Regions from separate parts of the Homo sapiens genome. Here region 2 is linked to region 1. Evidence: promoter capture Hi-C in human tissues and cell types (Jung and others, 2019). All regions are on one chromosome and are shown on one strand. The core of a region is centred on a gene start or on the middle of the fragment in contact, and the rest is flanking DNA. Distances in the headings are between cores, read along the strand shown. Region 1 holds the start of VAV2 (vav guanine nucleotide exchange factor 2). Region 2 overlaps FAM163B (family with sequence similarity 163 member B).

The links. The method cuts DNA at HindIII sites, captures the fragments that hold promoters and counts their contacts. A contact is called where the count stands out against the background at its distance.
Region 2: a contact is called between a fragment that was not itself captured here and the fragment with the promoter of VAV2 in region 1, in 1 of the 25 tissues and cell types used here (mesendoderm cells).

The regions. Positions count from the first base shown.
Region 1 is chr9:133,990,801-133,993,669 of GRCh38, forward strand. VAV2 (vav guanine nucleotide exchange factor 2) reads right to left here and starts at 1,524. Exons shown (of 30, transcript NM_001134398.2): 1 at 1,275-1,524. The coding sequence starts at 1,478. RefSeq lists enhancers at 1-566, 567-1,294, 2,023-2,750, 2,647-2,836 and silencers at 677-1,116, 1,157-1,246, 1,517-1,666, 1,727-1,826, 1,927-2,236. The HindIII fragment of the contact is 15,000 bases long and covers 1-2,869 here.
Region 2 is chr9:133,594,680-133,597,548 of GRCh38, forward strand. All of the region lies in intron 1 of FAM163B (family with sequence similarity 163 member B), which reads right to left. Among named protein-coding and RNA genes, the nearest start is that of FAM163B, 13 kb to the right of the region's middle. The HindIII fragment of the contact is 4,184 bases long and covers 1-2,869 here.

The sequences.
Region 1 (2,869 bases), core at 274-2,773:
GACATCCTGCGGGAAGAGGCGCTGGCTCCCAGGGAGGCCTCTGAGGGCTCCTGCTAAGCCGGTCCAGGCAGTGCTGGGTAATCATTACCCAGTGGGAAGGCGGCCCCTTCCCCTCTGGGCTTGCCTTTGTCAGCGCCCCCCAACCCGGCAGAGAAAGGCCCGGTCTCCTAGGAAACGCAGTCACCGCCAAAGGGCAGAGGCCTCGCTGCCCAGCCTGGAATCGCTGGTGACTCACTCTCCCTCCTTCCCAGGAACCACGTCCTAAGTCCCACTGGTGAATGGTCCCTCTCCACATGGAGTTGCCACTGCGCGCGGTGAGGGGCTGCTGAGCTGGCTGGAAGACCGCACCTCCTCGGCGCTGGGTGGACCCGGCTGCCACCCGCTCTGCCTCCCCCGACCTCTTCTAAGCTGCTCCCGGTAAGGATTCCGCGACCCCCGGAGAACAGGACGGAAGCCTCGATTCTCTCAAGTCTTAGCCAAGTTCCCTCTTAAGAGGCCAAGAAAAGCAGCTTCGTTCGGCTGGGCAGGCATTTTCCTGCCTGGCCCTGCGGCCGCACGCGTGCCTCCGCCGCGACAAAGGCCACACTCAGCGCCCGAAGGAGGGGTGGGGGTGTTGGGAAAGCGATGGGGGCCAGGACTGGGGCCAAGTGGCCCTGGGGATCCTCGAGGCGGCTCGACCCGGGAGCCAGGACTGGCGCCAAGTGGCCCGGGTCCGGGTCCGGGAAGAGGCGGAGGCCGGCGAGGGGGCGGTGCCCGGGGCCAACCCAGCTCCCTCCGGCCCCGAGGGCTCCCGCCCCGCGCCCCTCCCGGGCCCTCCAGCCGCGCCCCGGGCCGGCGCAGCGACCGCGCCCGCTCTTCCACCGGCGTCCGGCCAGGAGGCGCGAGGCCCAAGGATGCGACCCACGACGCGCACACCCGGCTCGGCAGGCTCCCTGGGAAATGAGGGGCCACTCGCAGGGCCCCGCAGAGCGAGCGCAGCGCCGGAGCCTCCCCCATCCCAGGCCGCGCAGACCGCGGAACCGGCGCACCAGAGCAGTGCCCGCGGGCGGCGGCGGCGCGACCCAGGCTGAGGGGACTTTGGCCAACTTCGCGCCTCCTGAGGTCGCGTCTCGGAGGCCCGGGGCGCACCCTCCAGCCGCCCGCCCGCGTCCCGGAGCCCGGCCGCCCCAGCCAGGGCGCCTGGGCCGCCGCCGCTGCGACCTCCGCGTTCAGTCCGCGCGTCGGGCAGCGCGAACGCCGCCTCCCCGGGGCCCTCCCGCCCGCCGGGCGCTCACCTGGGACATCTGCGGCCGGAAGTTGATGTCCTTGAGGTCGATGGAGCCGGGGGAGAGGTTGTGCAGCAGCTGGCACAGAAGGACCCCGTCGCGCAGCGCCTGCGCCAGGTCGAAGACCACGGCCGAGGGCCACACCACCCGGTGGTTGGGCGGCAGGACCTTGCAATCGATGAGCCAGCGGCCGCACTGCCGCCACTGCTCCATGGCGCCCGCGGGCCCGACCGGCTCAGGGCAGTGCTCGAGCCAAAGTGCAGCGGCCGCGGGGCATCCCGCCCGCGCGCGCGCGGGGCTCAGGGCCGGGGCGGGGCTTCGCGCGGGCTGCCCCAGGTCCCCCGCTGCGCCGCCGTGCGTCCCCTCCTCTTCCTCCTCCTACTCCTCGGGCTCCTCTCGGGCCGCCGCTCCCGCCCACGTGCGGCCGCGGGGCGGGCAACGGGCAGCGCGCCGGATCTCCCCGCTTCACACACGCAAGTGCCTGCGGGCCCCGGGCCGGGCTCCACGCAGCCAGTCGCCGCAGCGCTCCCCAATCCGCGCCGCCGGGCGCCGCATTCTGCGCTCGGGGCGCCCCGCGGCCGCCGCGGCTCCTGCCCCGCCCGAGACAAAGGCCCGGCGGGGTCGCTCGCTCCGCGCGTCCCGGGCCTGGGCCGCCCGCGTCGCCGCCGCTTTGTTCGCCCCACCCGCAGTCCCCACGCCCGGCGCTGCGACTCGACGACTCGGCGGCTCGGCGGCTCCACGGCTCCGGGGCGCTGGGGGCGCAGGGGGCGCGGCCACGGCCGGGCGGGGCAGGGGCGGGGCCGGAGCACTCGCCTGGCACCTCCCCGTGTCCCAAGCGCCGCCCCCGCCCCCCCACTTCCTGCCCCGCTACCGCCCGCGAAAGTTGCGGTGGGCGGGGGTTGCGGCGCAGGCCCAGGTCCGGCCGACTTTCTCCAAGGGCGCTCGGACTTTGGGGAGCCCTTCTCCCTGGGGGAGCGACCTCGCCCGTGGAGTGATGGCCGGGCGTCCCCCCGGGTGCCTTTGGTCCTCCGTGGAGGTCAGGAGGTGGTCCCTGTCGCGCTGGGCGCCCTCGCATGGCCGTTCGGTAACGACAGACTCGGGAGAGGGCACCGGGCTGGGCCGAAGCTTACTGAGCCCCCTTGGCCCATCAAGCCGCCCCGGCGGGATACCCGAGGCTGAGGCTGAAGGCACACGGGCCCAGGACTCCCAGAGCCCTCTTCCTGTCCTCCGCCCTGGCCGGGGGCCCATAGGAAGACCCCCGACCCTGCATAAAGGCCAGGATTCCCCAGCTTTTGGCCAAAGTCCTGGCCACTCGCAGCTGCCCAGCGGGCAGTTCCTGGCGTCCAGGGCGGAATGCGTGACATGAGTGAGGGCAGGAAGGTGCTCTCCGGCCCAGGGTCGCAGCCGGCCCCGGTGCTGATCCGCCCTGATCTCCCTTCTAGGCCACACCCTGGGTGGTGGGGGCGCGGTCTGTCCAGCTGGCAACGTGTGACGGTAGGAGGGGCTTCAAGGACAAACAGATTCTGCAACTGAAATTATATGGATCCTGGCTCAGCTGCCGGGAACCGCGGGTTTTCACTGCTGATTCACTGGGGGACACCAGG
Region 2 (2,869 bases), core at 111-2,610, 400 kb before region 1:
CCTGTGGGGGGACATGAATGTGCACTGGTGATTTCGGGAGTGCAGAGAGGAAGAATGGGGAGTGTTAACAGGGGTGGCAGCCAGGAGAAGTGACCCTGAGTGAGGGGCCCAGATGCTGAAACCTGAGGATGAGTAGCGAGAAGATGGGAAAGAGCACCCTGGGCAGGAAATGGCACTTGCAAAGGCCCAGAGGCAGGCAGGGCAAGGCAGGACCTGGAGAAGCCCATCTTGCTTGGAGTATAAGAGCAGGAGGGGGACAAGACAAGAGGGGCGAGGTCAGCAGAGACCCCGCAGGCAGCAGGGCGTTGGTGCCTGAGCCAGCCTTCCTGGAGCCCTGTCCCTGCCTTCCCTGTCACAGCTTGGTGCTGCTCCTTCCTCTCCAAAACACTTTCCAGGTCAGTCTTCCTCACATTTTAACGTGCATCGAGTAGCCTGGGGAGCGGGGCTGCAGGACTGTGCATTTGTTTTTGTTTGTTATGTTTTTGAGACGGAGTCTCCCTCTGTCACCCAGGCTGGAGTGCAATGGCACGATCTCAGCTCATTGCAACCTCTGCCTCCCAGGTTCAAGTGATTCTCCTGCCTCAACCTGCCAAGTAGCTGGGACTACAGGTGCATGCCAGCACACCCGGCTAATTTTTGTGGTTTTAGTAGAGACGAGGTTTTGCCATGTTGGCCAGGCTGTCCTCCAACTCTTGACCTCAAGTGATGATCCTCCTGCCTCGGCCTCCCAAAGTGCTGGGATTACAGGCGTGAGCCACTGCACCCGGCCAGGACTGTGCATTTTTAACAAGCATCTGGTGCTGCTGGTGCGGCATCCTCGGACCACACTTTGAGGACAAGGGGCTGTAGCCCTTGGCTTCTGGGGCATTGTGCTCTCCCCGATCTCCCCCTCCCTCCTTGGCTGGCTTCTCCTACTCTCCTGACCTCTAAGTGTGAAGGGGCCCAGGGTCAGGCCTCAGGTTCCCCTTCCTTCCCCATGTCCACCCGTTCCCATTCCACCCTTCCCACAGTGGCTTCCCCCACTTTACAGCTTCCAGGCCACATATCAAAAATATCCCCTGCTCCATGGTTGCTCTCCACCCCCTTAACCTGCCTGGTTTGTACCTTTACCCCATACTTGGCATATTATATGTTCATTTACTGTCTGTTTCTTCCCTCTGGAATTTGAGTTGCTGAGGACAGGGGCTCGGTCTCTTTATTCTGGTGCCTGGAATGGTGTCCTGGGCCCATGGTGGGCACCTGGTGACTCTCAGCCGAATGAGAAGTGAATGTGTTCAGGGCAAGGGTCAGAAGGGGGCTGGCCAGGAGAGTAACTGGACTGGTTCTGCTTTTGGTAGTGGCTCTGTGGCTGCGGGTGCAAGGCAGGCATGGTGGGGTGGGTGTGGAGGCAGAGTGGGAGGAAGCCGTTCAGAGGCTGTCATGGTCATCAAGAGGGAGGAGGTGGTGGGCTGGAGAGAAGGGGATGGGGGGATGAGTGGGAGGGAGCACCAATAGGGCTTGTTGGTGGTTTGATGGGGAGCAGGGAGGAGTCCTGGGAAACCAGAGGCTTCTGGCCCGGGCGGCTGTGCGGGGAGCCCCCGAGTTTGCCATGCTCCTGTCTGGGAGCAGCACGGTGGCTGCCACTTGAATCTGGGCTGTGCATCACCTTGGCTAAGTTTCTTCGTTCCTCCATGTTTCAGTTTGATAAAATGGAGATGACAGTAGAAGTCTCCCCATAACTGGTGGGCGGGGGCGGGGGTGGCTCACCCTTGTCGTGCAAAGCAGCATTAGCCAGAGTTTCAGCCAAGATGGGGTAATGGGGCCCAGGCTTGCCCTCCTGCTTGAAGGTGACACCAGTGATGAAGGAAAGCACTCCTCAAGCCATGGGGGAGAGACAAGGAGGGCCCTGTGGTGGCCCCAGCTCCCTCCAGCTGGAATCCCAGGCTATGGTGCAGGGAGCTCAGGTGCAGCCCGCTGCTCTCCCTGAGTTGCAGAGAGAGATGATAGCCCAAGGAGGCCAAAGTAGCCGGAGGTCACAGGACACAGAACTGGGGAGGAGCCTGCTGCTCCGTGGGGGACCGTGGAGCCACAGGGCTCTGCAGAGGGTCCCCCATGAGTAGCTGGCTGAACAGTGACTCAAATGTGAGCAAAACTACCTGAGGCCAGAGAAAGAACTAGCTGATAGGATTCCAGGGAACAATATTTGAAGCTCTCACAGGTCCAGAAATAGTTCCTCTTCCCACCAATCAGGGAAGGTTCTAATTCATGAAGCACTGGGTAGAGCTGCTCTAGACTTGCCTAACAAAGCTTAAAAGCAAGGCCTGAAAGGATCAAACTATTTCCCAATAACTGAGCTGCATCCCAGAACAGACATCACAAATATGTATTGCAATATAACAATGAAGTGGAATTCAAAATATCTGGCATCCAGTAACAAATTACCTGGCATGGAAAGAAGCAGAAAAATACAAACCACAGTGAACAGAAAATCAATTCATTGGAACTAACCCCGAAGTGGCACAGATGATAGAATTAGGAGACAAGGGTATTAAAATAGTTATTAACTGTAGCTTATATGTTCAAAACACCAGAGGAAAACTTGAGCATATGAAGTAGAGACATAGAAGATAGGAAAAAGAACCAACCGAACTTCTAGAGATGAAAACATGACAATGCCTAAGATGAAAAATGCAGTGGATGGAATTAACCTCAGACTAGATATTACAGAAGAAAACATTAGTGAACTTGCAGAGAGCAATAGAAGGGATCCAAAGTGAAATAGAGAGAAAAACATCAATAAACGAAAAAAACAAACAGAACTCAGTGAGGTGTGGAGAAGTTCAAGGGGTCTAATATACGTATAACTGGAATCTCCAAAGAAGTTGGAGCT